Regions from separate parts of the Homo sapiens genome. Here all the other regions are linked to region 1. The links are contacts of gene promoters, found by promoter capture Hi-C in blood cells and fetal thymus (Javierre and others, 2016). All regions are on one chromosome and are shown on one strand. Each heading gives the region's core, a stretch centred on a gene start or on the middle of the fragment in contact. The rest is flanking DNA. Distances are from core to core; before and after follow the strand shown.

Region 1 (3,521 bases), core at 576-3,075:
ATTAATGGGAAAAGGGTCATGTGTATGGATACATGTATTTGGACATTTATACGTAATGCGTGATCACTTTTGATCCAATGTTTGGCTTTACCTGTCTTCATCTCCCCTGCATTACCAGAAACTGACTTTGCACTTTCACTTACCACCGCCTCCCTGGGAGGCAAATTCATTTTCCACTCTGGATTTCATAGCTGAAGTCTGAGAAGCAGGAAAAGGAGAGACTGGGATTACCATTCCCAGATTCCAAACTAGCCTGCTAGTTACAGCGGTATGATGCTGCCCCCTATACAGTGATTCGTACCAGTCAGATGAACGGTTCTTTGATCGGTTCTTCTGTCCTCCACCACTGGTCTATCCACCCCATCTTGAACTTTGTTAATACAATATTTCTGCTAGTTATTGTTCAGGGATTGAGAGTCAGGGAAACTGTGTTCTGGTCCTTGGGTTACTTAATGTCTTGAGACCTTAGTTTCCTCATCTGTAAAGCGGGAGGGCTGGACTAGATGTATGTTCCTCCTGCTCTGAGCTGTGAAGCGTCTAGGATGCCAGGAGAAAACCAGACCCAAGTCACAGGGTTCTAAACAAACCATACCTTAAATCTCTCAGTAATGGCCAGCCACATCTGCAAGAAGCAGGCTGGGAAAACAGCTGAAGAATAACAGATATTTGTTTTATTTGTCAATTATGGCTCAGTAAAGCTAAAAAAAAATAGATACTTCTGTTATCAAGAAATTATTGCACTTGATTCAAGGCTGATATTAAACCATAGCAGACTCACTCAAGGTGGGGGGTGAGAGAAACAAAGAGATTACAAAACTGAAAAGAGGTGTTCATTTGCAGAGAACTAAGGGAGTATCCTTCAAACAGAAACTGGAAGCCAGAGATCTCTGAAGATAAGGATCATGAAATGTTGTTATTCCCCAGACAGAATGTATCCCACGTTTTCCACCGGCGTTGTTTTTGGTAAAGAAGGGTAAGTGGAAGGAAGTGATGAGGCTGAAAAATACCATTTGCTTCAATTCAGCCGCGAAGGATCCGCTACCTTTTGGTTCCTATTAAGTGAATTTAGCTTTAGCTTTCATGATAGCATTTTCCCAAAGGAGTCCTTTAGATCTGACCCCTACCCTCTTCGCAGCTAGACTGACATCAGGTGACGTTGCAAGTGCCCCCAGCCCACTAAGCGCTATCAGTAGGAATTGGCCCTCAGCCCCGTCACAGCGCTTTCCCATGACATCCCCCAGCTTCTCTCTCCTAGGACCTCCTCGCCAGCCTACCCCTACCTGTTGGGTAGGTCTTACTTGCTGGGAACACCTGCTGTCCTTAGAATGGGAGCAACCAACGCCTTGGAATCCTGGCCTGTCCCTTCCTCGTGAAGGGGGCGCCTGCGCTCAAGTGCCGGCTTCGCCGCCTCAGGCAGAGTCTAGCAGGCGGGCGACCAGGCGTAGCTGAGTTCTGTGGCCTGGGGAAAGGGGACGCCCTATCCCCACAGCCCTGTTTCGCAGGGCTTCAAGACGCTGAGAACGGCCGGGAACCCCTGGAGTCTTGGAGGCACCCGCCAATTCCAGGGGCCCACCCCAACCCCGCTCTCAGTCTGGGCCAGCGGCGGCGGGACAGGCGCCCGGTCCCCACACACCGGCTGAGACGCCCAGCCCACTGCGGCTGAAGCTCCGGCCGCTGTTGCGGCAGGTGCTGCAAACCGGTCTGCCTTCGCTGCAGGGCTTGCGGGGATGGGGCAAGTGGGTGGAGAGAAAAGGGGAAGAGCCTGGGCGGCCGGCAGGCGGGGCCTGCAGCCTCCCCAGCCGCGGCAGCCGCCGCGCAGCCGGCTCTCTCTGCGCCTCGCTCCGACTCCGGCGCGCACCAAGCGGGAACCCGCGCCCGAGCCCGGCGGGCGCCGCTGCTGCTCCTCTCGGTCCCCGGTTCCCGGTCCCCGAACGCGCCGCGGCGAGGCTGCGCCCGGCAGTGGAGCCGCTCGGAGCTGCTGGGCTTTGGCGGCCGCTCGCTGCTCCGTCTGGCCGGAGGACCGGCGGGGAAGGAAGGGGAAAGCGGGGACACACACACTCGCCGCGGCGCGCGCGCACTGCACACTCGTAGCCGCGCGCCCCCGCCAAGGCGCGTCCGGAGCGAGTTTGGCCCCGCGGCTCCAGCCCCGGCACCTGCCCGCCCTCAGCGTTGCCCCCGGCCCCGGCCCCGCCCGCCGCCCCCTCCGCCCTCCCGCCCCTCCCGCCCCTCCCGCCCCTCGCCTGCACTGCTCTCCCTTCGCTGTGGGGAAGCGACAACGTCCCGATAACTTGCAGACTGTGGCGCAACTGGTCTTGGTAGCGGAGGCACCCGAATGCTGCCCGGGTGAGGTAAGTTTCCTGTGCGTCCCCGGCCCCTTCCCACTAGACCCTTCTGAGGGGCTTGCGCTTAGGGGCTCTGCATCTCTGCTGAAACCCGTCGGTCTCTCTACCCTTCCACTTTGCCTGTCTGCGTTGTGCTGGGGGTGACGTGGAGAGGGCGCCCGTGGCCACCGAAGCGGACCTTCGTTCCGCGGGGGCCACAGCTGCGCGCTCCCAACGGACACCCACCCGCTCGTCACCCGGATCCCCGGGGCCGCAGTGACACTCGGAGATCACTCTGGGTTCACTTAAATAGGAGTACTCTCCCCTTTTCCGGGGAACCTGCAGAGTTTGGCAGCGGAAGGAAAGGTCTCCCACCACCCTCCCCCGGTACGAAACAGCGGTGAACTTGTTAGGCGCCCTGGTATCTCAAGAGGGGCTTGCGAGTTGGTGTTCTGCTCATTTCTGGCGCTGGTGCCGGATTGAACAGGTGCGGTATGGTTCCAGTCTAAATGCAGCAACAGACTTCTGCGTTTCCCAGGCTTTCTCCCCCAGCCTGGTCAACGTGACGCTTCAACATCTGGGGCAGGGGCTGGGAGTGTAGGGGCACTGGGGAGGGAGAATGCCCGGGTTTGATTTACTATGCCGGTGCCAGGAGTCGCCAGAACAGAAGAAAACAAATGTCTGCTTATCTGGCATCTATGCAGATGAGCGTGTTGTCATTTCTTATCCCCCCCAACCCCCAGCTCTCTTGTCTGGTGCCCAGCGTGGCTGAGTAGAAACCTATTCCGGAGAAGTTATTTGGGTAGATTGATTAATTCTTTCATCGAATCTACTGAAATCAGGGCTCCGAACAAGGCAATCCTAGTTACTCTGATGCTTTTTTAAAGGGAGCGTGTTACAGATCAGAAATAACACCCACTATCATCACTACCTCTCTGTGACATTCTCAGATGCAGGAGGCCCTAGCTTTAAGGGGAATGATCCTTAAGGGACCGGTAGGACCTCAGAATGTGTTAATCTCGTGCAAGGAAGAAGCGGTCTCTGTGTCAGTACTTCTGAGTCTCGGTTTGGGGAACCCCTTTTGTCCCTCTAATGAAGCACATTCAGCCAGAGACTTCTCCCCTGTTCTGCGAAGAGACTGAAGCGTTCTGCAGCTGTTGGAGTGGAGAAAGGCGAAAGGATTGGTTTCATTAGGACTCT
Region 2 (3,521 bases), core at 366-2,865, 500 kb after region 1:
CTAAATATACATAGTTATGGTGTATTTTTAATGTTCAACAGAGCTACTAAAATTTATTTTTGCTCTAGTTCCCTTCCTTTACAATTAAGATTTTCTCTTTATCACTTGGCTTAGCAGAGCATATATTCTTTGAATATTATGTTAAGTAGCTAATAGTTAATTTTATTACCCGTTAACCATAGGTAAGAAGAAGCCTCGCAATCTGATTGGTTTCAGGCACCAGGCAAGTTAATAGCAAGGTCTGATTGGTGGTGGTAGTGGTAGGAGATTAATCGTCTCTCTGACAAATTTAATTTAAATTACGCTTGCAGGCATCACAGGACACTTAAAGATGGTAGCATCCCATTATTGAAGGGCTGTGAATTTCAAAAGCCAGATTCATTCTACTTGAGCCACATTTAAAAAATAAAATTTTGCAGGAACTCATTTATTTGGCTAAATGATAAACAAATTTAAATCCAAAACTTTGAAGAGTTTATAGTTTTAAATTCCAAAATAGAAATGTATTTTAAAAGTAATGTACTCATAAAAATATTCTCTATAATAGCACAGCTCCTTGGGATATTCAACATTTTTTTGGTATGTAGCATTGCCCAATCCTGGGGATGATTGTCATAGTCCCAGTTAGTTTTTTTTCCTGATAATTTTAAAGTAAGTTTTGTGGGGAGGATGTCATGTAATTTTTTTTCCCCCTTAATTCATGGGGCTATAACTATATCCAAAGAAGAGTTGGCAAATATATTTATTTTACCACAACTTCTAGATTAATTCACTTTGTTGAAATTTGACAGCTTTAAGGTACAAGAAGGCATTGAGAAGATGAGCTTGGAGAAGTGGGCATGCTCATAAGGTCATTTCTGGGTGGTAGTGGCTTAGTTTTACTAAGGCCACATCTAAAACTGAAGTTGGCAAGGAGTTAGTAAGGTGTTCTATGGAAATGGAAAAGGGCAACCAATTCTGACTTACTGCAGGAGTTCAGTTGAGTGTCTGCTTTCTTTTTCTTTTCTTTCTTTATTTTTTTTGAGACAGAGTCTCACTCTGGAGTGCAGTGGCGCAATCTCAGCTCATTGCAACCTCCACCTCCCAGGTTCAAGTGATTCTCTTGCTTCAGCCTCCCAAGTAGCTGGGACTACAGATATGCGCCACCACGCCCGGCTAATTTTTTGTGTTTTTGGTAGAGATAGGGTTTCACCATGTTGGCCAGGCTGGTCTTGAACTCCTGGCCCCAAGTGATCCACCTGCCTTGGCCTCCCAAAGTGTTGGGATTATAGGCGTGAACCATCACGCCCGACCCGGTTTCTGCTTTCTGTTTCCATTTAAGAAAACTTTTTGGCCGGGCGTAGTGGCTCACACCTGTAATCCCAGCGCTTTGGGAGGCCGAGGTGGGCGGATCATCTAAGGTTGGGAGTTTGAGACCAGCCTGACCAGCATGGTGAAACCCTGTCTCTACTAAAAATACAAAAATTAGCTGGGTGTGGTGGCGCATGCCTGTAATCCCAACTACTCGGGAGGCTGAGGCAGGAGAATCGCTAGAACCCAGGAGGCGGAGGTTGCAGTGAGCCCAGATCGTGCCATTGCACTCCAGCCTGGGCTGGAGCAAAACTCCATCTCAAAAAAAAAAAACAAAAAAACTTTTTAACAAATATGTACAACTTCATTAAAATATTGGAAAATTTATTGTGCTTCCACATATTGGAAAATGCTGTTTTAGACACATGCAGAATTCCAGAGAGGTATGGCTATAGAGCACATCTAGAAAGTCAGACCATGAGCACCTGAGTTTTTAGTTCACCCACCTCACGTATGCTATCAAAGAAGCAGAGAGCCACGAATTTGATACAAACTTTCTTTAAGAAAATTTGTAGGCTGGGCACGGTGTCTCACACCTGTAATCCCGGCATTTTGGGAGGCTAAGGCAGGCGGACCATTTGAGGTCAGGAGTTTGAGATGAGCCTGGCCAACATGGTGAAACCGTGTCTCTACCAAAAATACAAAAAAATGAGCTGGGTGTGGTGGCGCACAACTGTAATCCCAGCTACTCGGGAGGCTGAGGTATGCGAATCACTTGAACCCAGGAGGCAGAGGTTGCAGTGAACCTAGATCACACCCCTGCATTCCAGCCTGGGTGACAGAGTGAGACCCCGTCCCCCCCCCCCCCCAAAAAAAAAAAAAGTAGCAGCAGTCAGTGCTTCAGTTATATTAATTGAATGATGAATGAATAGTGTATCCATCTCTAGATGTATTAAAAAGAAAAAACTTTGAGTGCCTACTCTGTGTGCCAGACACTGTTGTAGCAGATAATGGGACAAAGATGAGTAGGATACAAAAATTTCACCTGAAAATTCACTTTTATTTTTTAAAATTGAAGAACAGTCGTCACAGTGAACAGACTTTAAGTAATTGGGGAGTTTTACATAATTTAGATAATAATCTTTTGGAATGTTTACATATTTCCTTGTGTTGATGGGCCTTCATTTAATCTAAATCTTGCACTTTTGGGCTGCTTGCGTCCCTGGCACCCCAGGCCCCATTCACCACCCAGTCCCAGGATTGCTGGTAGCACAGATCTCTTCTTCTGGCCTTTTTCAGGTATTTTGAGTTCTTTTTTTTTTTTTTTTTTTTTCTTATTAAATATACAGATGGGGTCTCACTATGTTGCTCAGGTTGGTCGTAAACTCCTGCACTCAACTGATCACCCCGCCTCAGCCTCCTGAGTAGCTGGGACTATGGCATGTGCCACCATGCCTGGCTAACTTTAAAAATTTTTTGTAGAGATGGGGTCTCACTATGTTGCACAGGCTGCCCTTGAACTCCTAGGCTCAAGCGATCCTCTCGCTTCAGCCTGAGTGCTGGAAATACAGACGTGAGCCACTGCACCCAGCCCTCTTCTAATTTCTTAAAACATAAACACATAGTCCGGGTGGCTTGGTGGCTCATGCCTGTAATCCCAGCACTTTGGGAGGCCGAGGCAGGTGGATCACAAGGTCAGGAGTTTGAGACCAGCCTGATCAACATGGTGAAGCCCCATCTCTACTAAAATACAAAAATTAGCCGGGCGTGGTAGTGCGCACCTGTAATCCTAGCTACCCAGGAGACTGAGTCAGGAGAATCGCTTGAACCTGGGAGGCGGAGGTTGCAGTGAGTGAAGATCACGCCACTGTACTCCAGCCTGGGCGACAGAACGAGACTCCGTCTCAAACAAAACAAAACAAAACAAAAAACCAACATATACACATATTATAGATACTCCATTTTTGTCTGTGGCTGGTATTTCAAATATTTAAAGTCTTTGATTCTTCAGTTTATGTTTCTTTTACCTCTCACTCATGGTGATGTGCATGTTTAAATTGTGGGCTCATTTCCTTGGATACATACTATCTGGGGAATCTTTGAGGGCTGTGTTTGAGTGTGATCTCTGGAGAGGATTCGCATCTGCCTCTGTGTACTTGGTGGTATGGCCAGTGCAGAGCCCCAGTAGGCATGAGTGTTTGGCAGGGTGTGGTCACGTCTGTAATATGAAC
Region 3 (3,521 bases), core at 396-2,895, 480 kb after region 1:
CGTGTCCGACCCAGACTGATTTCTGTAACGGATGTTCATTCTTTTCACTTTATAGTCACATGGATGCCACTGTAAGAGCTCCGTGTCACATAAGGTGTTGTTTTTCTGGAAGGGCCTTCCAGATTCTGTATCTATTGCTCTGTGATTCTAGGTACTTTTCTAAAGGTATAAGCTTGAGAAATTAGTTTTCAAGTCTGTAAGTTAATGTAGAGCTGAAAGGTGACTTAATTCTAAGAGTTGCTGCTTTAATGTATAATTTTATGGAACCTAATGAGTGTTTTCTTTTTAAAGTCATTCCACTTTATTATTAATAAAATAAAAGGTAATATATAAATCTGGCTGATAGATGGGGTTACTTTTTTCCCTGTCTTTAGCTTCCTTTGTGTTCTGATAAATGAGATGGAAGATTTTTATCATATTTTGTACCTCAAATCTCTCGCGGAGGGAACACTGTAGTCTACCAAAACAGCTGGCAGAAGTGTCTGTCCTATTATAAGTTTATTTTATGAAACATGAGCTATAATGTAGTCCTTTTTTTTTTTTTTTCTTTTTTTGGAGACGGAGTCTCGGTTGCGCCTGGCTAATTTTTTGTATTTTTTAGTAGAGATGGGGTTTCACCGTGTTAGCCAGGATGGCCTCGATCTCCTGACCTCATGATCCGCCTGCCTTGGCCTCCCAAAGTGCTGGGATTACAGGTGTGAGCCGCCGCGCCCGGCCAATGTAGTGGTTTTAAGACATTTAAAAATCTTGAACCAATGTTGGCAACAGCCTGTCTGTAATGATGTCACATGTGGAAAGAACCGAGTTTTTCTTAACTTTAGAATGTGAATTTTTTCCTCCTTCAAATACTTTTTCCTATAACCCAGACCTATTTTACTTTCCAGGGACCCTACTATTACTGCCCTAAGGTAATTTGCTAGAAATGGAGTGGTCAAGATGTATTGATTAACGTTTTAGGCATACTTCTGTAGTACTACTTCCGAAGGCTCCTTGCAGAGAAATTTGAAGTGATAAGGAAGGCAAATATTCGAAATGGAAAGATAAGTATAACCAGTGACTATTTCAGCCACTGGTTTAGCAGTTCAAGTGAGCTGGCTGTTTGTAAAGCTTGCTTAGTAAATGAATGTGCTAGAAATATATTGACAGAATTTGGTTTTATCTCTTTTTCTCCAGACTTTTAGTCGGCCAGGGCTAACAATGGATGTCCAAACAGTTTACAGTGGCTGATACACAATGCACAAAGGGCTTCACTGTTTGGAGACTGGAAAATAGAGCCAGAGGGGAGCTTCTTATGGGCATTGACCTAATTCACTCCTTTTGGCAAAAATGCTTGGTTTTAAATCAATGTATGTATTTCTGACCCAAATATCTATAAATATTTCAGCTAGTAGTGTTACAGCTGGAGGAAGGGACCCGTGGTGTTGCTTCGTGTATTTTGATTTGACAATATTCTTTAGAAATAAATTGTCAAGTGAACTAATATTACACAAAAGTTAGGGAAAGTTAAGAGAGGCAGCTGAAATTCCATCAGTTTCCTCCTTAGTCCCTGGAACCTCCCCACAATCAGGAATTTGTTAGTCACCTGGTTTTTAAAGATAAATTTCTCTGTGGGCGTTTCTGCTGAGAAATGTGGGGAAACAGGACTGGGCTAAAAATAAAATTAGTTCAGGCATTGCTAAACTTCTAAGTATCATGTTTGTGATGTACTTTTCCAGGAAACATAAATTGGCAATATTTTTGCTCCTTTTTACTACCACAGAAAGAATATTTGCAGTCAGCATGCACGGCCTGAAAGAATCTCTCTCGCCTATTAATAGAACAGAAGGAACATACACATGTCTATGTGGGGGAAAAACATCTCATTTGGCTTAGTAGTAAGCTCCAAATAACAATTGCATTGTTGTTCTGAATTGTCTTTGAGTGTGATTGGATGATTAAATATAAATGTTGACCTGATTGGATTATATCACAGCAATGAACTGTCCTGAAAAAACAGCTGTAACATACCACTCCAGACTGTTACCAGACTTAGTCGGCTGGCTTTATATTTGTGTTGTCAAAACTGGGATGCTGTCATTTCTGTTTCTCTGTCTCTTTCGTCTGTTCCAATTTGAGATATACTGACTATGTTAGTGTAGTCTGCTACATGGATAGTCCTTTATCTTTCAGCAACATAAGCAACATAAGCTTTTTGACTGAGACGAGCGTAATCAAAAGGAATGCTGGGAAACAGTGAACTGTAAAAAATGTCCTCAATTAGATACAGGCTTCAGTGCATGGGTTTATCCTTTCAGAAGATCGGTGTGTTTTCAGTGAGGGTCTAAACCCACTGGCCTGGATTCCACCTCTTGTTGGATGGGTGGTCAGTTTTAACATTAGGGGGTGTTGATTGTGAGCTCTTGAGAGCAGGGCTGGTTCTTTGCATTCCTAGGTAGGCATGATGTAGAGTAGTTGCTCAGTAAATAGGGGAAGGTGAAAGGAAGAGAAGGGAGAAGGTGAGTCTCAAAAGACTGGAATGTGATAAGCACACGTTTATCACACTGGGGGTGTATTCTCTCCCTTTTCTTAGAGTATTCCTTGCCTCCTGAAAAAAGCACTTTGCAGGAAATATGGAGATCTTCTGAACCTGTGGCTTTGTGTTATTGGACTGAGAAGTCCAAAATGTGCATTAGCGGAGCTTATAGAACTGCTCTGAGAATGTGTTCTTGAGTTCTACAAATATTATGGGGTGCGTTGGGGGCTGGCTCACTCCAGCTCAGTTCCCATGTGTTAAGTGGAACTTCTGATCTGTTGAATGCCTAACCATGACGGAGCCCAGGAGACAAAGTAAGGTGTGGTTTGTTTTGCTGTAAGACCACGTTTGGTTAGCTTTTCTCTAGCAAAGCTGGGGAAGGAGATCACAGGGCTGATGTGGTGGTAGGCCCTTGGTGTAGATCTCACTGACTTTTCCCAGTCAACTAGGAGTAAATGTTAACCCTATTTTATAGGTGGGAAACGGAGGCTCAGAAACATTAAGTAAATTGCCCAGTGTCACACGGCTTGTGTGACAGGGAGGGGATTTGAGCCAAGGTCCATTTGATGAATTTGAAACCTGTAGATTCTGTCAATTCCACCAGTCTCTGCTTTTTAGAATCACAGTGGCAAGAAAATAGGAGAAGCTCAAGGCCCTGTGTTGATTATTAGGAGTTTAAACATCATCGCTGAAAGTGCATAGAAATATTTGTATTCCTAGAGAATCTTAAGTAAAAGTAACATATCAATGTTGTCAAGAGATGTCTTCATTCATCAGAGACCTCTGTGTGTTCATTACTGTATGAGACCCCAAAGACTCTAAGTTGCCTCTAAGACACAGCCTTACAGGGAGGTATTAAGTGATTATGTATACAGCTAGCTAAAACCACAACTTTATTATAGAAATATTAAGAATATGTCTTATCATGTGAGAGTATTCTTTCTTCAAGTCCATAGCCTCCAGTTAGAAATGGCTGTGTTGTCCCATCAACCCCTTCACTCAAAAACTA
Region 4 (3,521 bases), core at 496-2,995, 380 kb after region 1:
TTTTTAGAAGACAGGCTGCCCTGATCCATGAATTGCAAATGAAAGCCAATTAGATCATTTAACTAAATTCATTGTAATTTTGTCTTTTGACATTTGTAAACAAGCCTTGTAGTACTTGCTAAACAATGGGCTGGGCGCAGTAGCTCACACCTGTAATCCTAGCACTTTGGGAGGCTGAGGTGGGTGGATCACCTGAGGTCAGGAGTTCGAGACCAGCCTGGTCAACATGGTGAAACTCCGTCTCTACTAAAAATTCAAAAGTTAGATGGGCATGGTAGCATGTGCCTGTAGTCCCAGCTACTCAGGAAGCTGAGGCAGGAGAATTGCTTGAATCTGGGAGGCAGAGGTTGCAGTGAGCTGAGATAGTGCCACTGTACTCCAGCCTGGGCAGCAGAGCAACACTCTGTCTCAAAAAAAAAAACAAAAACAAAAACAAAAAAACAACTTGCTAAACAACATATGTTTATTATTTGGTAAATTATAAACAATAAATTCAAAACTTTAAAAAGAAAACATTTTATTGATAGCTCACTGAATACAAATTTATAAAATATTATTTATGCATTAAGTTTCAGTTACACATTTTCACCCATCATTACAGATGTCATATGGAGTTGCTAGAGTATGAGAAGAGCTTCTTCATCCCAACAGCTTTCAAAGTGAAGAGGCGACTCATGCCTGTAATCCCAGCACTTTGGGAGGCTGAGGCGGGTGGTTCACTTGAGGTCAGGAGTTTGAGACCAGCCTGGCCAACATGGTGAAACCTCGTCTCTACTAAAAATACAAAAATTAGCTGGGCGTGGTGGCGCACACCTGTAATCCCAGCTACTCAGGAGGCTGAGGCAGGAGAATCACTTGAGCCCGTGAGGTGGAGGTTGAAGTGAGCCAAGATCATGCCACTGCACTCCAGCCTGGGTAACAAAGCAAGATTCTGTCTCAAAAAAAAAAAAAAAAAAAAAGTGAACATCTGGGTCCCCCAGATCTCTTCAGAGATATGTAATGTTCTCCTTTTTCCAACTACATAACTCTTTAAGCTGGGTTTTCTTCATATACTCCAATGAAAACAACATATTGCAACAGATGGAATGAAGAGGCAAGTAGAAGAATCCAGCTGTTTTCTATTAAGCCAAACATTACAATTGTCAGCTGAAGAATTCTGAGATTCATAAATTTGGAAAGAAAAGCTTCATTTCTCATAAAAGATTGCAGCCTGCAGGGTGGCCATTCTGACAGGCTAAGAAATGTAGTCTCTGGCCAGAAGCCAAAAACAGACACTGAGGGTCAGAAGAATAAGATGGGCATTTATGCTGAATAGGATGGCCAAATATACATATTCAATAAACTACAGTCATGAATATTCATGAAAGGAGAAACATGCACATGCTCAATTGAGCTTCATGCCTCTCCATGGGACGCGTGTGCAAAAAATGGCAGCATTAGCATGATCAGAGGGTGGAGTTTTCTGTCCTCTGATATCAAAAGGTGAAACAGAGGACACAGAAACCCTCACTGCACATCCTCTGTAAACTGGCCAGAACCACTCCATTGTGGGCAGTCTGTTATCAGGAAGGAATGCTGGTTAGTTGTGCAGAAACTGCAAAAGGAAGGGGCAGTGTCAGACCATTGGTTGATATCAGCGGTGCAGCTCGTCTTTCCAAAGGGCTGGTTTCTGTTTAACCTGTAGGAAGGAAATCCTAATGGCGTTTAGCAATGGAGAGGGTATAACAACACATCATGGCAAGAACTCAGTTTTCAAGGTTTCTCTGGGGTCCCCTTGGCCAAGAGGTGGTGCATCCGTTTAGTCAGCTGGGGGACTTAGGATTTCATTTTTATTTCTCAGAGTTTTATAAAACTCTAAAATAATTATTTGACAGCCAGGTGGGAGGGGGTCCCTGGAGAAACTCCAACCAGCCTGCCTACTAGGGTGGAGCCTTGGGAGTTTGCAGCAGGGAGGAGCCTGGCGCCTCCTCTTCCTATGTGAACCTGGGATTCTAGCAGCCTGGTGGGAAGCACTGTAGCAGGAGACTCTGGCCTTGCAGAGGATCCCTGTTCCCCTCATCCCTTTATTTCCCCTTTTCACTTAATAAAACCCTGCTTTACTCACCCTTTAAACCATCTGCAAGCCTAAATTTTTGTGGCTGTGGGATAGACAAGAACCTTCTCTTTAGCTGAACTAAGGAAAAGTCCTGCAATGATCCCATTCTTCACACCAAATATGTTTTGTTTCAAAAGTATAGTTATTTATCATAAATATGTCATTAATATTGTTAAATCAAATTTAGCCTAAAGCTGCCTCCTTATATAGTTTAAGCTTGACCTAAAGGTTTCTCTGTACTTAGTGAATTGTAGCCTACCCAGATGTGTAAACAAGACTGTGAACTACTCTTGTGACAAACATTGGATTTTGGCCAATCAAAGGAGGTCAACTCTTGACACTGCTTTCAAATAAGGCAAATATTGAGCTGTAAACAATCTGGCTGTTTCTATACCTCACTTCTGTTTTCTGTACGCCACTTTTCTGTCTCTGTCCATAAATGTTCTTCCACCACGTGGCTGTGCTGGAGTCTCTGAACCTACTCTGGCTGAGGAGGCTGCCCAATTCTCAAACTGTTCAATTAAACTCGGTTAAATTTAATTTGTCTAAGGTTTTCTTTTAACCATATAAACAAGTGAGTTTATGATTGTTATGTCTTTTTTCTTTTCTTTTTTGAGACAAGGTCCCACTCTGTCCCCCAGGCTGGAATACAGTGGCATGATCACGGCTCACTGTAGTCTCGCACTCCCAGGCTCAAGCGATCCTCCATCTCAGCCTCCTGAGTAGTTGGGAGTACAAGTGCATGCAACCATGCCTGGCTAATTTTTTTTTTTTTTGTATTTTTTGTAGAGATAGGGTTTTGCTACATTGCCCAGGTTGATCTCGAACTCCTGAGCTCAAGTGATCCTCTTGCCTCAGCCTTCCAAAGTGCTGGGACCACAGGCATGAGTCACCACACCCAGCTATTATTTCTAAATTAATGAACAGATGAACATTTTCAAAATTTCTCAGTTTTAATTTTAAATATGATTAAAAGGATAGATATAACACACAAACAAAAGCTCTATGGAGTCCTCTATAACTCAAGAATATAAAGGGTCCTGAGATTTTTCTTTAAAGAGAACCACTGCACTCTCCTGGCCTACTAGCTCTCCGCAATCCATCCTGCTTCTCCCCTTGGCAGGAGAGACCTGTTCTAGACCCTCAAGGACCCCTCATAACATCACCTAGCTATTATCTAAGGAATCTTTCTCCATTTGGACTTCCCATTTTTTTCTTCCCCCTTTAAGGTCCCCTTATTCTTTTCATCTAATTTTGTGTGCCACCTGCAGAGTCCTTCTTCTTCTTCTTCTCCTTCTCCTTCTCCTTCTTCTTCTCAGAGTCTTGTTCTGTTGCCCAGGCTGGATTGCAGTGGCACGATCTCGGCTCACTTCAGCCTCTGCCTTCTGGGTTCCAGTGATTCTCCTGCCTCAGGCTCCTGGGTAGC
Region 5 (3,521 bases), core at 618-3,117, 290 kb after region 1:
AAATTAGCCATGCTTGGTGGTGCATGCCTGTAGTCCCAGCTACTTGTGAGGCTGAGGCTGGAGGATCCCTCAGGCCCAGGAGTCTGAGGTTGCAGTGAGCCATGATCTAGTCACTGCACCCCAGCCTAGGCAATGGAGTGAGACATGGTCTCTAAAGAAATTGAAAGAAAAGAAAGAAAAGAAGGAAAGGAAGGAAGGAAGGGAAGAAGGGAAGGGAAGGGAAGGGAGGGGAGGGGAGAAAGAAAGAGAGAAAGAAAGAGAAAAGGAAGGTTTCCAAAGTATCTACCGTTGTTTCTCCAAATTTTGCTGTTTAATCACCTCCTGTACCATAAACTTTCACATTCTTTAAACTTAAATTTTATGGCAGTACATCTAGAAAGTCCTGCACCATTAACTTGTAATTCCAGAATGTGTTTTCATGCTGGAAAATTTTATTTTTTGTTTTGCGTGCTCTTCTAGATCAGAAAGGGTACAGCTCATTGCCCTCCCTTCAGTATTTTCATTTGCATCTCCATATGAAAAAGCAAATGGAGGCCGGGCACAGTGGCTCATGCCTGTAATCCCAGCACTTTGGGAGGCCGAGGCGGGCAGATCACCTGAGGTCGGGAATTCGAGACCAGCCTGACCAACATGGAGAAACCCTATCTCTACTAAAACTACAAAATTAGCTAGGCGTGGTGGTGCATGCCTGTAATCCCAGCTACTCAGGAGGCTGAGGCAGGAGAATGGCTTGAACCCAGGAGGCAGAGGTTGCGGTGAGCCAAGATTGCGCCATTGCACTCCAGCCTGGGCAACAAGAGCAAAACTCCGTCTCAAAAAAAAAAAAAAAAGGAAGAAAGAAAATGGAAAAGAAAAGCACAAGAAAGGAAAACCAATCTTGCCTTTGCATTGTCTCTTTTTTCCTTTTGACATAATTTGAGTGCTCTGAATCACAGCCATCTTTATCTGAAGGGCAGTTGGAAGCTTCTCTAGTGACTTCCTGTACAGTGTTGTCACCAAACGTGGTCAGGTTTCTCTTGTAATGCTTCTTCTCCTTTAAGATAGCATTTCTCTATTAGTAGTTGTAGCCTAATCCCCTAGTGCTTTTATTTATACAGTAATGTATAATACCATTTACCTTTGTGTAAAAATACATAAGTTTAAACCCAAATGACGTATGCCCACCAGATAACATATGAAATATCCTTTTAAGGATCCATCCACACATTATGTGTGTGTGCATTAGGCTAGCTCTCCTGCTTTTTCCTGTAACTCAACATGAAATTAAAAAGGATTGGTGAGTTGAAAAGGCAGCTAATTGTTCCATCATCCTTAGTGAGACATTTAGTTCAGATTTTATGTATCTAGTTATTCTGCATGGCTTTTTAAAGGCCATTCACCTTCACACTGTAGAGTCCCAAGCTATTTGACTCATTTTCAAATATTCAAATCAAGGGAAGTGTTTTCTAAGATGATTTTTATCCAGTGACCAAAGATGTGTTTTTCATTGAATTTTGAGTTGATGACACAGATTAGGGTATTTAAAAGAATACACAGAGATGAGCAGGCTGTATTGATTTAAAATGGGCAATCACGCAGTCTTCATAATAGAGCAAGATTCTACTTTGTAAATAGTCCCAGATATTCTAAGGCACCGGATGCTGTCACAGTGGCTGTTATTTCCGTTTCTAAGGCGGCTTCTTTGCCTGATGTAGAATGCAATTTGGTTTTCGTGGAAAGAGGAACAACCAACAAAAAGCCATTTCTGCTGAAAAGTGTATTGGGAGAGAATATCCTTTTATGACTAGCTGGGAATGGCTGGGTAAGTGGGAGATAATGGGATTGCTTTTTTAATAATATAGAAGTTTGAAAGATGGCTGCCAGAAAACAGTGACTTCCTTGCTTCTACTATTCATACCCAAGGTTATGCCCTTACACTTTCCATATTAACATCCTCTCAATAATATGTACTTTCATCCAGTTTTGCTTCTCTGCAAAATGGCTGTTTGAAATACAAAAATAGCTGTGAGCAAAGGAGAAGAAACAGTTAAGCTGTTTTTTAGCCACGCCAGTATTGGAGATTAGCGCTCTGATGGGCAGCTGTTGGACGGCTTGATTATTTAATGTGTTTTCAGGGTAGTTAATAATACTCTTTGATCATGGGAAGAAGGGTGGCAGAGAAGTGAAAATGATTGAATTAACAGCTTATCATACTATTATGTATGGAAAAAGCGTGAGAAAGAGAAGAAAAACACTTTAAATTAGGTCACAGGGGTCTTAGAAAATTCAGTGGAACTTTTTTGGCAAAAGAAACTGCATTTCTGGATTTGAATCCCTCAGCGTTGAGGTTAATGACTTATATTGGGTCTCTTTAATCATTCCTTGTTGGAGCCAGTATCCGCTGCTTCAAGGGGTGTTTATTTGAAACAGTGGCATTTCTTATTCCTTCTCAGGAGAGAACTCGATCCCCTACCAACCAAAGATGCTGCTCGGGTTTTTGGTAGATTTTAGTGAGAGCAGAGTAGGAAGGAGAAAAGACAAACACTGCGTTTGGTGTAGAAGGCATTTGACCAGAAGCCCCTTTCCTTCTGCCAGGTGATCACATTGTTGAGAAGTGAAGAGATTTTGGAAAGGATAAATTAGGGCCCTTGTTTGTTTCCAGAAATGCTTGGCCCCTAAGTTATTGACAAATAATATTTCTAAGACATGTGGAAGAGCTGAGAAAATGGACCTCCCATTGCCCGAGTCTCACAGCATCTACAAGTTATTCCCATTCTTGAAATAAAAGTGACGCAAGCTTCAAATTAATGAGGCAACCTGTCAGTCTAGATTAGGAGGTCACCCATAGGATTTTTTTAAAAAACAAACAGCATTAAACTGCTGTTTAAGGATTAGCGTAGGGAATTCCAGCTGGAGTTATAAAGGCACACTGGCTTTCCAGTTCAATTAGGCTCAGAGTTAGCAATTGAATGACAGTTTGCAGGGCTGCAGTAGCTTTTTTTCTTTTTTTTTTTCTGTTAGGTCCTAGCTTTACAGTGAATCTTGGCTTGCAGGCTAGCTTGATTTCTACTTTCTTTTTTTCTTTTTTTCTTTTTTCTTTTCTTTTTTTTTTTTGTTTTTCAGACAGGATATCTCTGTTGCCCAGGCAGAAGTGCAGTGGTGCAATCTTGGCTCACTGCAACCTCCACCTTCCAGATTCTAGTGACTCTCCTGCCTCAGCCTCCCAAGTAGCTGGGACTACAGACTCACACCACCATGCCTAGCTGAATAGAGATGAGGTTTCCCCATGTTGGCCAGGCTGGCCTCGAATTCGACCTCAAGCGATCCGCCCACCTCGGCCTCCCAAATTGGGATTACAGGCATGAGCCACTGCACCCGGCTGATTTCCACTTTCTTAAAAGCTAGTTCTGCTCCAGTTTGCCTGGGTCTTTTATTATTATACATCCAGGCGCGGGTTGCCCCTCATTTTTCATTCTTTTCCTCCTAAGACTGGCCTCTCTTCCCTTCCCTTATCCCTCTAGACTCTTCCTATTGCTTCTCTT
Region 6 (3,521 bases), core at 342-2,841, 270 kb before region 1:
CTTTGAATGACAGCCATGTATGGACTTGAACCTCACAGTCCTCTGTCGCACAGGGAAGAATGCCAGTGATCTTGAATAAGACTCAGTTTTTGTGTTGCTGGAAGAAGGAACAGTATCTGGGTATCTGAGGTTGGTTTTGTTTCCTTTATTTTCTCAACATCTTTGAGCTTTGTTTGAAATGCAAAACCTAATTTTAAAAATTCTGCTGTTGGATATATCATTTGAAATGTAGAAATACTCTGAAAAAATAAACATAATTGAAATAGCTTTCAACTATTAATAATTTTAAAAATACATGGTTTCCTTTGTCTCCTCTATGGTTTTGAAATTTAACAATGGGATATTTGTCATCATTCTGCAGGTTGAGTTTTTCAGTCCAGCGTAGAGTGATTGTTTCTGTTTTTATTTTATTTCTAAATTTTTATGCCTGCAGTGGATGTGCGTGAGCTATGGCCTTGGGGCCTAAACAGCTCTGGGTCTCATGGAGAGCGAAATGAGTGCATTTCATGCTTTCGCTTTCCACAATGTTTATTCTGTTAAAGTAAACTCAACTTATGGATGTATCATTGGTTGTAATTATACCATTCACATAAAAGGTAAATAATTTCAAGTAAAATTAGAATGGTATTTTTGTAAATCCTTGTACTTTCCTCACTGACTTTCAAATTTTCCTCTTTCCTAATTTCATCCTAATTTTCTCCAGGCCCAAGGACATTAAAGGCATCCATCAACTTTTCCGGAATCAGGTTTCTCTGGATACCGTTTCTGATTTGGAGGCTTGCAGCCATTTTTTTCCAAGCATAAAAATGGCTTCAACTTTCCATAGTAAGGGAAATCTCAGTAAGGGAAATCATATACCCCTAAGTATATGCATTTTAATTTTCCATGTCTTGTCACTGTTATGATAAAAAAGAACAACAGAGTTTGAAAACTTTCAGTGATTGTAATTTTCTAGTTAGAAGTTTATTTTGTTACATGGTTCTTTCTTTGAATCTCAGCTGTCTTTTGTAATTAGAGTATTCATCATAACATGCATCAACTATTTATATTTTCTCAATAAATAGTCCTTAGCAACCAATTTTGTGCCTTGGTCTCTTTAAAGACAGTCATACAGGTGTCATACCCACCTTTTCCTCTAGAATATATTATAACCTGAATAAATCCTGGGCCTTATGTCACCAAGTTTCAGGGCAGTGTAACATTCAAAGAAACAACCAAAAGCAAATGAAACTCTAAGTTTTGCTTGCAGTCCTCAGAACGCATTAAAAGAGATTCAATTTACAGATCCTAGCCACATCGTCTAAGGTTCCCCCAACTCCACTTCCTCACTGTCACAGCCCATCTGGAGCCCTTGTTCTCCACTGCCGCCTTCCCACTACTCGCCAACACTGTCCACTTTTCTTTGCCTCTTGTATTCTGTTTTTCTAGTCCTACCTCTTTCTTCGCATTCTCCTGTTTCTGTATCACAGGAACCCAGGAGTCAAGTTGGGGTAGACAAAGAAGAGAAGCTGATCAGGCAAAGACAAAATTATCTTTACTGGGAAGTGGAGGCCTTGAGGGTTCAGAGTGAGGCTGCAAATACTCAGATAGTAATATTTTTTTGTAATATTACTGTCACCAAGGCATTTTTACAAAGAACACCAGGATTTAATGCAGCTATTAAAGTTCTTAGTTTACTTTGTTGAACTTTCCAAAAGAGGCAACCTGTCCACAGTTCTGAAGGCTGTGGCAATGGAGTGTGCCCTCAGAGAAACCTCAGGAGATAAAATCACAGTCTTCTTCTAGAATGATCTTATAACAGCTAGAAGGGCAAAATACACTTTTAAGAGTTGGAGTCTATTCCATCTTATAAGGATGGGGGATTTATTAGGACTCTGTGCCAAGATTTTCCAGAATTTCTCTCTAGGAGTAGCTAAAGGAGGGAGCTGTCTGAGAGGGGATTGCTGGGGACAATGAAACTTGGGTTTGAATAGCACTTCATGTAAGATGGAAAGAACATCATTTCTCACAGCAAAGTATTAGGGGTGGGGATGGGGGTGGGTGATCAAGATCAATGCAGTGTCAAAACCTCAGCCCTCCAATCTACTCCTGGAATTTTTACAGAGTGTGAGATGTTTGCAGACCAGGAGGCTTTCTTGCATTTATGCCTCAGGAAATGGGTCGTTTTATAATTCTTGTGGGGTTCTTTTTGTTGTGTTGTTTTTTGTTTTTAAAAAAATCCCTCTTCCTATACAGAATCACTATTAACAGTGGTATGTGACTTTTCAGACATTGTATGTGCATACATCCCCACACACACCTTTATGTTGTTTTTTATTTATTTGTTTTTATTTTTTAATTTTTTTTTTTTGAGACAAAGTCTTGCTCTGTTGCCCAGGCTGGAGTGTAGTGGTGCCATCTCAGGTCACTGCAACCTCTGCCTCCTGGGTTCCAGCAATTCTCCTGTCTCAGCAACCCAAGTAGCTGGATTACACAGGCAAGCGCCACCACACCCAGCAAATTTTTGTATGTTTTGTAGAGACAGGGTTTTGCCATGTTGGCCAGGCTGATCTTGAACTCATGGTCTCAAGTGATCGGCCCACCTCAGCCTCTGAAAGTGGTGAGATTACAGGCGTGAGCCATTGTGCCTGACCATGTTTTAAACAAAAAAAAAAATTGACGTTATATTTACACTTTAATCTGAAATTTGCTTTTTTCAATTTACAGTTTGTCATGAATATCCATGTCAGAATATTTAAATGTACCATTTTTTTTTTGAGACAGTATCTCACTCTGTTACCCAGGCTGGAGGGCAGTGGTGCAATCTCGGCTCACTGCAACCTCTGCCTCCTGGGTTCAAGCCATTCTCCTGTCTCATCTTCCCGAGTAGCTGGGATTACAGGTGCCTGCCACCACACCTGGCTAATTTTTGGTATTTTTAGTAGAAATGGGGTTTCTCCATGTTGGCCAGGCTGGTATCGAACTCCTGACCTCAGGTGATCCGCCTGCCTTGACCTCCCAAAGTGCTGGGATTAAAGGCACGAGCCACTGCGCCTGGCCTAAATGAACCATATTTTTTTAAACAGTTATTTTATTCCGTTATACCATGATGGAATCTTGTACACAATAATTCCCCTATTGTTCAATATATAGGTTGCTTCCAATTTTGCACTATATATACAATACTGCAGTGAATACCCTGCTATGTATATTTTTGACACACCTGCCTTAGTGTTTCTATACTATTGATTTCTAAACTTGTAGTTTCTAGGTCAAAGAGTGTGCTTTCAAATTTTTAATTGCTGATGCTACAACCCCCCGTCTTCCCCAAAGTTAAAAACCCTTTGTCCCAAAAGTCAGGGGACTTAATCTGGATTCTGTCGCTGTTTAGTTATTCATGTTGGGCAAGCTGCTTCTTCACATCTCTGTGAAATGAGGAAAGTGGAACAGAAGATGACCTCTGTGTTCCAATGTCCCATGAGCCTTTACCTTTACAAATTGATTTGCCCAATTTCAGAGAATTATTTAGGGCTGTTTCAAAC
Region 7 (3,521 bases), core at 442-2,941, 270 kb after region 1:
TGAGTAGAGTCTGAAAGCTAAGGCACAAACACTATCTAGCAATTCCTGGTCACTAATAAAGGTTTAAAAAATGTTTGTTGGATTTTACTGAAGAAGGGCCTTGCTTTTTGTTCTGGGTTTTTGTTTGTTAGGTTGGCTGGTTTTGAGACAGTTTTGCTGTGTCACCCAGGCTGGAGTGCAGTGGCACGATCACAGCTCGCTGCAGCCTCAGCCTTGTGAACTCAAGCAGCCCTCCCACCCCAGCCTCCCAAGTGGCTGGGACTATAGGTGTGTGCCAGCATGCCCAGCTAATGTTTATATTTTTTGTAGAGACAGGGTTTCGCCATTTTCCCCAGGCTGGTCTCAAACTCCTGGACTCAAATAATCTACCTGCCTTAGCCTCCCAAAGTGCTGGGATTACAGGCATGAGCCACTGCACCCAGCCACGTCTTACTTTTTAAAGACAGAAAATGTAGTGTTTAGCAAGAAATATGAATTGTACTTTTTTTCAGTTGCCTAAAATATAAACTTCCTAAAAGTTAAGGTGTTTATTTATGAATGCATGTCAGTGAGAAGTTCTTTTTTCCCAAGGTGGTGTTATGGAGGGAAAGTCAGTGAGTCAGCCTATTTGCCGAGGCCAGCTTGTCCTTCAGGCATTTATACCACCAGTATTAGTTTGCTAAGCTGCCCTTACAAAGTACCATGAACTGGATGGCTTAAACAACAGAAATTTGTCTCACCGTTCTGGAGGCCAGGAGTTTGAAATCCAGGTATCAGCAGGGTTTTCCCTCTGAGGTTGTGAAGAAGAATCTGTTCCATACCTCTCTGCTAGCTTCTGGTGGTGTGCTGGCCGTCTTTGACATTCCTTGGCTTGTAAATCTCTGCCTTTATCTTCCATGGAGCTTTCCTTGTGTATTTGTGTCTCTATGTCCAAACTTCCCCTTTTTATAAGAACACCAGTCATACCGAAGTAGGACACACCCTATTCCACTATGACCTCATCTTAACTAATTATGTCTGCAACAAACTCATTCCCAAATAGGGTCACATTCTGAGGTACTGGGGGCTAGGACTTAAACATATGAATTTTAGGGAGATGCAATTCAACCCATAACAACATGGCTCTGAATAAAGCTTTGTTTTTCTGAGTAATTTTTGTTTGTTTGAATCTGACAGCAGCAAGTATAGAGATTGCAGAGTATCTGGCAGCAAACCACTATCCATGGGAATTATGCCATTGAGGTGTAGTACAGAGAAATAATAGTGCTTAGGCCAGGAATTGTTTCCTGTTCACTGTGTCTTAAACCTTTATTGGTTCCATTAGCTTACACAGCAAAAGGCATTTCCAATTCAGCATATTTTATTTCCAGTATGCCACTCTGATCTCAAACTTTAGTTAGAGAAGACCAACTAAGGCTAAGAATCAAAACTTTTGGAAGCTAGCAAGACCTGATCAAATCCAAACTCCTGATTTTTACAGAGAAGGGAACTGTGGAGTACAGGAAAATTCAATGTCTTACCCAAATACAGTACTCACAGCTACTTAGTGCCATGTTGCTACCACAACCCCACTACCCTGCCTCTTGCTGTAGCTCCTTCTTTCACATATTGTACTGCTCCTCTGAGCCACAGGGGCCATCGGTGCCCTATGACAGTGGTCCCCAACCCTTTTGGCACCAGGGACCAGTTTTGTGGAAGACAATTTTTCCATGGATTGGACGGCAGAGTAGGGATGGTTTCAGAATGAAACTGTTCTGCCTCAGATCATCAGGCATTAGATTCTCATGAGAAACACAAAACCTAGATCCCTCTCATGAGCAGTTCACAATGGAGTTCATGCTCCTTTGAGAATCTAATGCCACCACTGATTACTGCCTAAGGCAGAGCTTAGGCAGTAATGCTCACTCACCCACCACTCACCTCCTGCTGTGCGGCCTGGTTCCTAGCGGGCCACAGACCAGTAACAGTCTATGGCCTGGGGGTTGGGGACCCCTGCCCTATGATTCAAAAGGTCCCAATTCCTGTTGCCTTCATGGTGCTTTTCTCTAGCTAGAGAACACAGTCAACCCTGTTTTCAATGTGTGCTGTCTACCTGGGAATGTTTCATGGATGGCCCATACTGCCATTTTTTAAATCTACCTAAGCCTCACCTCTGGGATCTACCTAAATATATTCTCTCTTAATTCCATGGATATGAGCTCTAGGAAGGGAACTAATTATAATGTTAGACTCTGCCACATATGAACAGTAAAACACATTGTCCTAGAGAGCAGAAGCCATCCAGTATTGTGAAGCTTAATAGAAATTACTTTGATGGGCCTAGCATGGTGGCTCACGGCTGTAATCCCAGCACTTTGGGAGGCCAAGGCGAGCAGATCACCTGAGGTTGGGAGTTGGAGACTAGCCTGGCCAACCTGGGGAAATCCCATCTCTACTAAAAATATAAAAAATTAGCCAGGTGTGGTGGTGCTTGCCTGTAATCCCAGCTACCTGGGAGGCTGAGGCACAAACATCGCTTGAACCCGGGAGGCAGAGGTTGCAGTGAGCTGAGATTGGGCTACTGCACTCCAGCCTGGGTGATAGAGCAAGACTTTGTCTCAAAAAAAGAAAGAGAAATTACTTTGATGGTGAAGGTTTTTATTTTGGTTTGCTGTTGTTGTTGTCTTGGATGTTATTTTGGTGGCGTATTTTTTTGCATTTATATATTTCATAATCATATAATTATTGGCTTCTTTTTTTTTTTTTTTTCGAGACGGAGTCTCGCTCTGTTGTCCAGGCTGGGGTACAGTGGCATGGTCTCGGCTCACTGGAACCTCTGCCTCCCAGGTTGAAGCGATTCTCCTGCCTCAGCCTCCCGAGTAGCTGGGATTACAGGTGTGTACCACCACACCCAGCTAATTTTTTGTATTTTTAGTAGAGATGTGGTTTCACCCCAGGCTGGTCTCGAACTCCTGACCTTGTGATCCACCCACCTTGGCCTCCCAAAGTGCTGGGATTACAGGCGTGAGCCACCGCGCCTGGCCTATTGGCTTCTTTTTAACATTTATTATTAATATATATCTCCTCAACTTTTGGGGGTTTTTAGGGTTTTTCCCCAGCTTTATTGAGGTATACTTAACAAATAAAAATTATATATATTTAAGGTGATACATTGTAAAATGATTACCACATCAAGCCAATTAACATATCTATCACCTCACGTGGTTATATCTTTTGTGTGGTGAGAACCCTTAAGATCAACTCTTCTAGCAAATCTCAAGTACACAATACGTGATTATTAACTATGGTCACCACACTGTGCCTCAGATCTCCAGAACTTCCTCATCTGGCATACATTTTGGCCAACACCTCCTCACTTCCTCTTCTTTCCACCAGTAACTATCATTCTAGTCTCTGCTTTTATGAGTTCAGCTTTCTTAGATTTTACAAATGAGTTCATGCAGTGTTTGGCTTTTTGCGTCTGGCGTATTTCATTTAGCATAATGTCCTCCAGGTTCATCCATGTTATTGCAAATGGCAGAATTTCCTTCTTTTTTAAGGAT

The links. The method cuts DNA at HindIII sites, captures the fragments that hold promoters and counts their contacts. A CHiCAGO score of 5 or more calls a contact.
Region 2: a contact is called between a fragment that was not itself captured here and the fragment with the promoter of PIP5K1B in region 1, in 1 of 17 cell types (erythroblasts). The highest score is 5.6, in erythroblasts.
Region 3: a contact is called between a fragment that was not itself captured here and the fragment with the promoter of PIP5K1B in region 1, in 3 of 17 cell types (erythroblasts, megakaryocytes and monocytes). The highest score is 14.2, in erythroblasts.
Region 4: a fragment that was not itself captured here is called in contact with the fragment with the promoter of PIP5K1B in region 1 in 1 of 17 cell types (erythroblasts); the score reaches 5.3 in erythroblasts.
Region 5: a fragment that was not itself captured here is called in contact with the fragment with the promoter of PIP5K1B in region 1 in 16 of 17 cell types (megakaryocytes, erythroblasts, total B cells and 13 more); the score reaches 40.2 in megakaryocytes.
Region 6: a contact is called between a fragment that was not itself captured here and the fragment with the promoter of PIP5K1B in region 1, in 1 of 17 cell types (neutrophils). The highest score is 5.1, in neutrophils.
Region 7: a fragment that was not itself captured here is called in contact with the fragment with the promoter of PIP5K1B in region 1 in 15 of 17 cell types (naive B cells, megakaryocytes, total B cells and 12 more); the score reaches 25.1 in naive B cells.

The regions. Positions count from the first base shown.
Region 1 is chr9:68,703,415-68,706,935 of GRCh38, forward strand. PIP5K1B (phosphatidylinositol-4-phosphate 5-kinase type 1 beta) reads left to right here and starts at 1,826. Exons shown (of 16, transcript NM_003558.4): 1 at 1,826-2,348. RefSeq lists enhancers at 1,340-2,265, 2,954-3,043, 3,494-3,521 and a silencer at 1,684-2,203. The HindIII fragment of the contact is 6,803 bases long and covers 1-3,521 here.
Region 2 is chr9:69,208,141-69,211,661 of GRCh38, forward strand. The region is part of intron 1 of TJP2 (tight junction protein 2); the gene reads left to right. Among named protein-coding and RNA genes, the nearest start is that of TJP2, 36 kb to the left of the region's middle. The HindIII fragment of the contact is 7,567 bases long and covers 1-3,521 here.
Region 3 is chr9:69,185,351-69,188,871 of GRCh38, forward strand. The region is part of intron 1 of TJP2 (tight junction protein 2); the gene reads left to right. Among named protein-coding and RNA genes, the nearest start is that of TJP2, 13 kb to the left of the region's middle. The HindIII fragment of the contact is 1,080 bases long and covers 1,106-2,185 here.
Region 4 is chr9:69,084,547-69,088,067 of GRCh38, forward strand. No RefSeq gene overlaps it. Among named protein-coding and RNA genes, the nearest start is that of FXN, 51 kb to the left of the region's middle. The HindIII fragment of the contact is 1,127 bases long and covers 1,183-2,309 here.
Region 5 is chr9:68,994,992-68,998,512 of GRCh38, forward strand. The region is part of intron 15 of PIP5K1B (phosphatidylinositol-4-phosphate 5-kinase type 1 beta); the gene reads left to right. Among named protein-coding and RNA genes, the nearest start is that of PRKACG, 17 kb to the right of the region's middle. The HindIII fragment of the contact is 1,813 bases long and covers 962-2,774 here.
Region 6 is chr9:68,429,868-68,433,388 of GRCh38, forward strand. All of the region lies in intron 6 of PGM5 (phosphoglucomutase 5), which reads left to right. Among named protein-coding and RNA genes, the nearest start is that of PGM5-AS1, 74 kb to the left of the region's middle. The HindIII fragment of the contact is 3,981 bases long and covers 1-3,521 here.
Region 7 is chr9:68,974,945-68,978,465 of GRCh38, forward strand. All of the region lies in intron 14 of PIP5K1B (phosphatidylinositol-4-phosphate 5-kinase type 1 beta), which reads left to right. LOC101927069 (a long non-coding RNA gene) reads right to left here and starts at 897. Exons shown (of 3, transcript NR_110647.1): 1 at 720-897. The HindIII fragment of the contact is 1,160 bases long and covers 1,112-2,271 here.